Regions from separate parts of the Homo sapiens genome. Here region 2 is linked to region 1. Evidence: promoter capture Hi-C in human tissues and cell types (Jung and others, 2019). All regions are on one chromosome and are shown on one strand. The core of a region is centred on a gene start or on the middle of the fragment in contact, and the rest is flanking DNA. Distances in the headings are between cores, read along the strand shown. Region 1 holds the start of FBXW11 (F-box and WD repeat domain containing 11). Region 2 has its middle 40 kb from the start of UBTD2.

Region 1 (4,984 bases), core at 1,560-4,059:
AGATTAGAAAATGGAGATAACCAAGAAGTCTGTTTCCTCTTTTTAATACAGCACACTTTGGAACAGCAAATGAAAGTTATCTTGTTAAGCATTAAGTGCCAAACTGGTACAAGCAGCACAATCACAAATATTTGAGTACTGAAGCTGACTCATAAAAATCTAAAAATATTTCATGCTTTAGGCTTTCAAAACACCATCAGTTTAACCCCTTTTCCTCCATCAATCGTATTATCTTGAAACCAATGTAAAAAATATTTTTAACCCAGTTCTGGAAACTGTAATTGAAATGCAGTGAAAACAGAAAGCCACATGCAATTAGATTCTAAGGCATTATTTCCTACATTTGATCCTGGATTTACTCAATCAGTTGTTAAGCACCTGTGCTACTTTACTAAAATAAATACACATATTTAATTTATGATAAGGGTTGTCTAAGAGTCTTAACTGATATCCCTTTCAGGAAATATCAAAATCCTTAAATAAAAGGCCATTTTAAAATTAATCGTAATATAACTAAACTCTGTTAAATTTTCAAAGAATTCCAGTTTAAATCCCAGTTTATAATGTCCTTAACAGGCTGAAATCTCTTTTCTGATCAAAACCAAGTGCTATCATGTAAAATCAAAACTTTTTAAGTTATAAGCATAGGAAGCCAGTGAATTTAGGCCAAAGGTTTTTATTTTTTTATTTTGTAACCATACACTGACTTGGGTTACAACGTATTTCTTATAATTCTTTTGAAAATAAATACATTTTCGTTATTTTTTAAAGGAATAGAAATGGAAGGAGCTGGGAACAGCCAATTTCAAAGAGGCACCAAGTTACAATTTTTCGATATGAAGTACTTCTGTTGTAAGTACATGCACTGTGTGTACATTCTTAAGAATATGTAATATACTTAGTCGATTTAAGATAGTTACCAAAATAACCCACTACAAAAGTTACAGAATACCAAACACTTGACTACAAGTATGATAAATTATGCTGAAAAGGAAAAATCACTCAGTATGTGACATCCCTTTGAAAACAACCCCACGTGCACACACACACACACACACACACACGCATGCAAAAATCAAAAACTATCAGTTTCTTTTTTTCCCTCCTAGTTTTCAAGAATGCTAGAGAAGTCCAGTTCTGTGAATTATGCAAAGGACAGCAAACATTAAGCTGCCTCCATATTTATGCTACTGTACTTCCATTTTTAAAACAAGCATCTCAACTCCCCAGACACCATCATCCACAGAAACCATGCAGCTATCCAACAGACTTTCAGTGTCACCATTTATTATTTATAGCGTTAAATGGGGGAAGTGGCTCTGATGTCACCAACCCTACCCAGTGGAATCACTGACTCAATAAACATTTTCACACTGAAGAAAATCTGGCTAGGAAAACATTTTGCTGGGTTAAGTAGATTCTTCCACCTCTCCTCTCAACCCTGGGGAAGAAGTTGTTACCGTGTTAGGAAAGATACAAAGAAACTGTCAAGGCTTCCATAGGAAGAAATCCTGGACATGTCCATTTGCTGATGCAGACTTCCTCTTCCCAGCTCTCCAGAGCCCAATTTGATTTCCCTCATGTTCACGTTGGCAGGTAATATCTGCCATATTTTATTTCTTCCACCAAATCATCCATCAATTAGCAAATTCTTCACTTCTAGCCACTCTCTCACTGTCCTGTTCCTAAAAACCCCTTCTGGTTTCAAATCCTAAAGCTTCGGAGGAGGGTGGAGGGTGTCCACGGACCGGGAGTCTGGCCTGGCTGCCAGTGGTTTCTAACAGAAGAGTGGTCGCTTCCCCCGGGGGCCAAGGATTCCCCTCTTTTTTTTTTCTTTCTGAGAAGAAAGACCTCGCGGCAGTGATGAGGATGGCTCCCTCCCCAGTCATCTCCAATTTCCCAAAGCAGCTCTGGAAAACGTGAAGTTGCGCCTTCTCTTTCCTGGAGGATGGAATCCAGAGTACCTGGGCCCTTGCTATGCAAACATCCCTCTCCGCCGGGTAGGAAACCCTTTGTCCGAGAAGCCGGACACCACAAGGGCCCGGGAAAGAGGCCTCCTTATCCGCCACAGCCTCAAACCCGAAAGCTCCCTGCCCCCCCAGCTCTGTAGGGCCTATCCTGGCATCCACACAGACCTAGGCTGGGGAGTGGGTGCTGAGACCTCTCCTAGGACGCGGAGGCCCAGGCGGCCCCAACCCATCTCCGTACTCCTTCCCACCATCTCACTCGGCCTGAGTGGGGCTTGCAAGCGCGGTGCGGGCCTGGGCCGAAACAGAGGAAAGAAAAAAAAATCCCTTTCTAAAAGAAGGAGAATGGGGTGCTAGAGCGAGTGCGACCTAAGTCTACAGCATAAACGAGCGAGGGTCGTCCGAGAGCTGGGACCGGAGACGGGACCAGGGGGAGGGGGAGAAGCGAGGGGCATGGAGGGGGCCGGGCCAGGACCGGCCGGAGATGTCGAGGGATCAGAGGAGCCCGCGCCAGGTCCGAGGCCAGGGAAGGCTGGGGGCCCGGGTCTGGGTCGAGGCGTCTGGGAAGGGCCAGAGCCGGCCTCGCACCGGACGTTGAGGTGGGCAGGCCCGCCCGGGGCCGGACGGACGGAAGCACAGACGGTCCAGCGGGCCGCACTCACCATGAGCTCGATGGTCTTGTCCTCAATCACCGAGTCGGGCTCCATGGCGGCCCCGGCGGCCCCGCCTCGCTCTCCCCGCGCAGCAGCGAACGGCCCGGGCGGAGGAGGCGACGGCGGAGGCGGCAGAGGCGGAGGCGGCTATCGCACCCACTCTAGCTGCCAGCCCGCCCGGGCCGCCGGCAGCTCCGCCCTCCCCCTCGGCGAACGCAGTACGCAGATCGGGGACTACACCTCCCAGCAGGCGCCGCGGCCCGCAGAGCGTTGTGGGACCGAGCCTCTGACACCAGGTTGCTGGCTCTTGGCAGCCCGAAGCTGAACTCCGAGCTGAGAGTAGCACTGGACGGTGGGCGTAGGACGTGCAGACCTGAAGAGTTAAGAGCTTGCTCATGGCAGGGCCTCGAGAGCGCCACGACTACGTGTCCCAGAAAGCCGTGCGCCCGGGTTGTCCTTCCGGCTAGCTTCTCTTGACTTCCTGGCAGCCCAAGGCTGCCCAGACCGGGACGGAAACTCCGAGGCAACTCCTCACTTGTCGGAGGTCCTGCGTATGCGACCCATTTCCGCACATGCGCGGTCCATGCCGCAGTGCTCCCTAGACGCCTAGGTAGCTGCGCGGCCCGTCCGGCAGTGTCTGATGGTAGGGGCAGATGGTGGAGACAGGTGGGTTCTAGGTGCGTTAGGAAGGTGTATAGACCTGGGGCTCAGGTGTGGGAAGGGGCCAGCGAGTGAGAGAAGCTCGGCCTGGGGAAGAGGCTCTGAGAGGATGGGCATCCCAGGAGTGAGAGTTTCGAGATTTCTTCGGGAAAGACGGGGTTTTGGGAAATGTGCTGTGGTGCTGTCTGTATGTCACACGATCTGCGAGGAGCTGCGAGATTAAAGGGGACGTGCGTATATCGAGCCCCTCATTCATTCGTTCAGAAAATGGTTATTTTTTAAGCATCCAGCTTCCGCTGCGTACCGTTCTAGGCGCTGAGAATCAGCTCTGAACATGACAGACAAGGCTCCTGTTCTCATGGAGCTTAATTCTGGTGGAGGGACGACAGACACTAACCAAAAGAGTGGCTAAGAAGGAACACACAAGCGGAGACTCCTTCTAGTGAACTCAGCCTCCAACTCTGTGTAACTTAGGTCTGTCCGTGCCCTCTAACCAAATCCCACCAGGAAGACACGGATCGTTGAACAAGCTGGGTTTATTACTAGTTGCAGTGACTGAGAACACACATTGAGGAACGATAGGGCCTCTCGGTAAGAGTTGTTAGTGATTTGGGAGAGGGTTTAAGGAAGTGAGAGCTTCACTGGATTAGATACTGTCAGGAAGAGAGGGTCGTTCCATGATTGAGCATCTCAGTTCATCTTATCTAGAGGAAGGGAATTCTAGATTGAGGCTAAAGCTGTGCAGATAAAGAAACAGCAGCCTGGCCGGGCGCAGTGGCTCACGCCTGTAATCCCAGCACTTTGGTAAACCGAGGCAGGCGAATTGCTTGAGCGCAGGAGTTCCAGACCAGCCTGGGCAACATGGCGAAACTCTTCTCTACAAAAAATACAAAAATGAACCGGGCCTGGTGGTGCGCGCCTGTCATCTCAGTTACTTGGGAGGCAGAGGTGGGACGATCGCTTGAGCCCAGGAAGTGGAGGTTTCAGTGAATGGAGATCGCACCACTCCACTGTACCCTGAGTGATAGAGCCAGACCTTGTCTCAAAAACGAAAAAAAAAAAAAAAAGTGCAGCAGCAGCTCCCTCATATTAGCCAAGTGGGGATGTTGAGTCATTTTTTGTGGTTTGGACAATCATCAGGTTTTATCTTTTTATCGTGTTTAGACCTGATTATAGAGTGGTCTTGTATTTGTCTGGATCTATCATGGTCACAGAATGACCTCGTCTGATGTTGATGTTCTTTGGAATTGTTTTTGTTCTACAGGAAAACACAAAGCCTAGCTATAAGGGCCAGGCTGTGGTCTAGTAACATCATGGCATGGCTGATTGTACCAGGCCAGCTTCCAGATATCAGAGGCTGCTTTTCACTTTCTCAAAGTGTTTTTGCATTCTCTGCACCTATAAAGTCAAAGAGGCTGGATGACCTAGAAATCTTTCCATTACCAAGGACCAAGTTACAGTAATTTGCATGCATTCAGGACACAGTATAAGTTCCCTGCAGGTAGACTTTGAAGTTTCATAGTCCTTACCTGGTGCTTTTCACCAAGGGAATTGAAAGAAAAGCAATAGGAAGAGCACAGAATTGGAAAGTTCTTACCACTGTCATGCTATCTGAATTTCACCAGGTCCGTTCCACTATGGCCCTTAGGACATTCATTAGTAAAACAAAGGGATTAGATATGACCTCTATTTCAGTTACCTGTT
Region 2 (4,984 bases), core at 1,414-3,913, 320 kb after region 1:
TTTACAAACAAATGTTTTTATTTTATTTATTTATTTTTTGAGACGGAGTCTTGCTCTGTCACCCAGGCTGGAGTGCAGTGGCGTGATCTCAGCTCACTGCAAGCTCCGCCTTGGGTTCACGTCATTCTCCTGCCTCAGCTTCCCGAGTAGCTGGGACGACAGGTGCCCGCCACCACGCCTGACTAATTTTGTTTCTGTATTTTTAGTAGAGACGGGGTTTCACCGTGTTAGCCAGGGTGGTCTCGATCTCCTGACCTCGTGATCCGCCCGCCTCGGCCTCCTAAAGTGCTGGGATTACAGGCGTGAGCCACTGCGCCCGGCCCAAACCCTTTTATTTTAAGTTCCGGAATACCCGTGCAGGACGTGCAGGTTTGTTACATAGGTTAACATGTGTCATGGTGGTTTGCTGCACCTGTCAACCCATCACTTAGGTATTAAGCCCCACATGCATTAGCTATTTATCCTGATGCTCTCTCTCCCCTCACCCCACTACAGGCCCCAGGGTGTGTTGTTCCCTTCCCTGTGTCCATCCAGGTGTTCTCATTGTTCAGTTCCTACTCATAAGTAATATGTAGTGACAAATAAACCCTTTCTTCCTTTACTTACAGCACTAGCAAAGAGTGGATTTGAGAGTTTCTCTCTTCCTGAGAATCTCTACAGCTGATTCCCCACAGGGCATCTGGTTTAGACTGATAATAAGCTTACAGAGTAGAGTACACCTGGAAAGAGAAAGTCTCCTAATTGTGTTTACCCTATTTGCCAGTGGCAGGACTTAATCACTTGATTTCTCAAACTTGACTTACTCAGGTTCCCTCAGGGGCCTGGGCCCTGGGGCCTGGCCTGATGCAGCTGGCTGCAGTCAACATTTCTTTCAAGTCTGAAGTTTTATCTTAAAACTTCAGGTGAGGTTTGAATTCTACTGCATAATATACTCTTGTTTGTTTTAATATGAAAATATTGAAAATAACTTACTGGCTAAATTGCTTAAATCTCTATTCCCCATTTTTTTTTCCTATTGCCAATTTTTGGGTAAAAATGAAGTTTTCCACGAGCAGCTTTAGGTATCTCTTAACACACTGCTGCTGTGTGCTCCTGGGGCCAGCCCGGTGTGAAAGTGAGTCCCTGGGTGATCGCAGCAGTTTCTGAATGACTTCCGGAATACACACAAAGCTCTGGACACACTCCATGCATGGACAGGCTCCTACAGGAAGTGGGGAGGCTGGTGGCAAAGAGATTTTTCAACCAGAGAGCACCTGCCTATTCATCCCAGAGTCTGGCAGAGTTAAAGGAAAGTTTAGGATTAAACAGGATGACAGAGTTTCTCTCTCTTTTATTTCCCTGCCTTCCTCCCTATCTCTCTCCTTCCTTCCTTCCTCCCTCCCTCCTTTTCCTCCTTCCTTTCCTTCCTTCCTTCCTTCCTTCCCCTCCTCTTCCTTCTTCTTTCTTTCTCTTTCTCTCTTTCTCTTCCTTCCTTCTTCTTTTTCTTTCTTTCTTTCTTTTTCTTTCTCTTTCTTTCTTTTTCTTTCTTTCTTTCTCTCTCTCTCTCTTCCTTCCTTCCTTCCTTTCTCTCTTCTTTCTTCTCTCTTCTTTCCCTCCCTCCCACCCTTCCTTTCTTCCTCTCTCCCTCTCCTTCTCTGTTTTTTAGAGAAGGAACTTCGCTCTGTCACCCAGGCTGAAGTGCAGTGACATGATCATAGCTCACTGCAGCCTGGCACTCCCGGGCCCAAGCGATCCTCCCGCCTCAGTGCCCATTGATTACAGGCATGCACCACCACGCCTGCCCCATAGTGTTTCTTAAGTTGGATATAAAACCTCCCTATGAGAATAAATTTTTAAAAAAATGGAAAAAACCCTTCTCTATGAGAATGTTTAAATTCTGAGTTTCCATTTCAATGACATTTTAAAAAAGACAGATTGGTAAAAGCCCTGAATTCAACACTATGCAACTTATCCATGTAATAAAATTACACTTGTACCTCATACATTTATAAAAACAAAATAAGTAAAAGATGGATAGGTATATTCTGGAGAATCTGAACGTTGGCCCCAACAACTGATTTCTGCTGGCAAGTGAATTAGGGTCTCAGGCTATGACTTCAAATTTCATTAGCTAAGGAGAAAAGAATCAGGTCCGACGTCATATGTTAGTGATATATTTGTGCCAAATGAGTGTTGAATGCACCACGATATGCTGCTTTAACAAAGGTTTTCCCAGTATTTCCATTAGAGAAAAATGAGTCATCACAATACTCAGAATATATAGGCAGATTGATTCCAAAAAATCTACTCCAATGCGGTTGCCTCCATCCTGTCCGTGTGAGTGGAGATATAATTTCAGCAAAGCTGAAAAAAATCAGTATATGTATGTGTGTGTATATGTGTGTGTGTGTGTGTGTGTGTGTGTGTGTGTGTATGAATTAAAAATAAAAAGCGCCATCAGGTCTCCTGTTAATGTTAAGGTAAACTCTGTCAGCTTTGTGTTTAACCTGTGAAAGTATTCTTTTTTTTTTTTTTTTTTTTTTTTTTTGAGACAGAGTCTTGCTCTGTCTCTCAGGCTGGCGTGCAGTGGCATCATCTCGGCTCACTGCAACCTCCGCCTTCCAGGTTTAAGGGATTCTCCTGCCTCAGCTTCCAAAGTAGCTGGGGATACAGGCATGCGCCACCACACCTGGCTAATTTTTGTAGTTTTAGTAGAGAAGGGGTTTCACCATTTTGGCCAGGCTGGTTTCGAACTCCTGACCTCAGGCGATCTGCCCACCTCGGCCTCCCAAAGTGCTGGGACTACAGGTGTGAGCCACTGCGCCTGGCCCAGTATTCATTTTTTACTTGCATAGTAGCTACAAGGCAACATGTTTATGTCTGTCTGGCTTATGTATATAATATACATTAATTTAAAATCATTTAAGTCTAAACACTGGGAATCTATAAGAATTTTGTTATCTTTAAGATGGGTGGGTACAAACTCAAATTTGAAAAACTGTTGTCTTAGTCCATTTTGTGTTGCTATAACAGAATACCACAGGCTGGGTAATTGATAAAGAATAGGGATTTATTTCTCACAGTCGTGGAGGGTCGGAAGTCCAAGGTCAAGGGGCTTGAATCTGGCGAGGGCCTTCTTGCTGTATCATCCTGTGGCAGAAGCAGAACGACAAGAGAGACACGTGCAAGAAAGGGAAGGATCCCTCATGTCTTGGTGCTGTCGTTGAGTGAATGAGTTCTCATGAGATCTAGTTGCTTAAAACTGTGTGGCACCTCCCACCCACTCTCTCTCTTGCTCCTGCTTTTGCTATGTGAGACACCGCCTCCCCCTTTGCCTTCTGCCATGATTGCAAGCTTCCTGAGGCCTCCCCAGAAGCTGAGCAGATGCCTGGCACCATGTTTCCTGTACAGCCTGCAGAACTGTGAGCCAATTAAACCTCTTTTCTTTATAAATTACCTAGTTTCACATATTCCTTTATAGCAAGGCAAGAATGGCTTAACACAGTGGTCTAAAGAGACAATGGAATATTACTGAGCCTTAAAAAGGAAGGAAATTCTGACTCATGCTACAAAATGGATGGACCTTGAGGACATTATGCTAAGGGAAATAAGCCAGGCACAAAAGGACATACACTTATATGAGGTACCTAGAGTAGTCAAACTTATAGAGCCAGAAAGTAAAATGGGCTGGGCGCGGTGGATCACGCCTGTAATCCCAGCATTTTGGGAAGCCGAGGCGGGTGAATCATCTGAAGTCAGGAGTTCGAGACCACCCTGGTCAACATGGTGAAACCTCATCTCTACTAAAAATACAAAATTACTCGGGTGTGGGGGCTCATGCCTGTAATCCCAGCAACTTGGGAGGCTGAGACAGGAGAATCGCTTGAACCTGGGAGGTGGAGGTTGCAGTGAGCCGAGATCGTACCACTGCACTCCAGCCTGAGCAACAAGAGCGAAACTCCATCTCAAAAAAAAAAAAAAAAGTAAAATGACGATTGCCAGGGAGCTGGGGGGAGAGGAGAGGAGAATTGTGGGGTTAGTGTTTAATGGGCACACAGTTTCATTTTGGGAAGATGAAAAAAGTCTGAAGATGGATGGTGGTGGTGGTTGTCCAACAATGTGTGCGTAACACTACTGAAGTATATACTAAAAATGACTGAAATGGTAAGTTTTGTATTACGCATATTTTACCACGACAAAAAAAAATACAGTAAAAGCAGTTTAGCAAATTCATGTTCACAGCAGCAAGGACATGACGTGGTTCTCACATCTCCATGGAAGCTGCCACGTGCTTCCCAAGTGCTGTCCGCATCTTGATTCTTCTAAGAGGGACTTCCACAGGGCTCTCCAAGTGAACATTCTTATGATCCTAGATGAATGCAGGGAGAAAAATCAGCAAATCTTCAGTCCTTTCCAAACGAAAGACTAACGTGGCCTGGGACTTTGTCTGTTTGTCTATAACAGCATACCGCAGACTGAGTAATTTATAAAGAACAGGGATTTATTTCTCACAGTTCTAGGGTCTAGGAAGACCATGATCAAGGCCTTGGCATGTGGTGATGGCCTTCTCGCTGGGTCCTCACGTGGTGAAAGGCGGAAGGGCAAATGGGGGATGATCGCTGTGTCCTGGCAGGGCAGAAGAGCAGCTGAAACACACTTCCTCTGTCAAGCCCCTTTACGAGGGCAACTAATTCCATTCATGAGGGAGGGGCCCTCCTGGCCTAGTCACTGCTTAAAGGCCCTGCCTGGTTTTTTGTTTTGTTTTGTTTTGTTTTGTTTTGTTTTTTGAGACAGCGTTTCGCTGTTGTTGCCCAGGCTGGAGTGCAAGTGCAATGACACGATCTCCGCTCACCGCAACCTCCGCCTCCCGGTTTCAAGCGATTCTCCTGCCTCAGCCTCCCTAGTAGCTGGGATTACAGGCATATGCCGCCAGACCTGGCTAATTTTGTATTTTTAGTAGAGACAGGGTTTCTCCATGTTGGTCAGGCTGGTCTCGAGCTCCCGA

The links. The method cuts DNA at HindIII sites, captures the fragments that hold promoters and counts their contacts. A contact is called where the count stands out against the background at its distance.
Region 2: a contact is called between a fragment that was not itself captured here and the fragment with the promoter of FBXW11 in region 1, in 1 of the 25 tissues and cell types used here (adrenal gland).

What each region holds. Positions count from the first base shown.
Region 1 is chr5:172,003,829-172,008,812 of GRCh38, forward strand. It overlaps FBXW11 (F-box and WD repeat domain containing 11), which reads right to left and starts at 2,810. Exons shown (of 14, transcript NM_001378974.1): 1 at 2,630-2,810. The coding sequence starts at 2,674. RefSeq lists enhancers at 1,975-2,094, 2,694-3,321, 2,865-3,134, 4,577-4,984 and silencers at 2,435-2,544, 2,555-2,834. The HindIII fragment of the contact is 22,108 bases long and covers 1-4,984 here.
Region 2 is chr5:172,321,033-172,326,016 of GRCh38, forward strand. It overlaps a transcript of SH3PXD2B not described here. Among named protein-coding and RNA genes, the nearest start is that of UBTD2, 40 kb to the left of the region's middle. The HindIII fragment of the contact is 5,649 bases long and covers 1-4,984 here.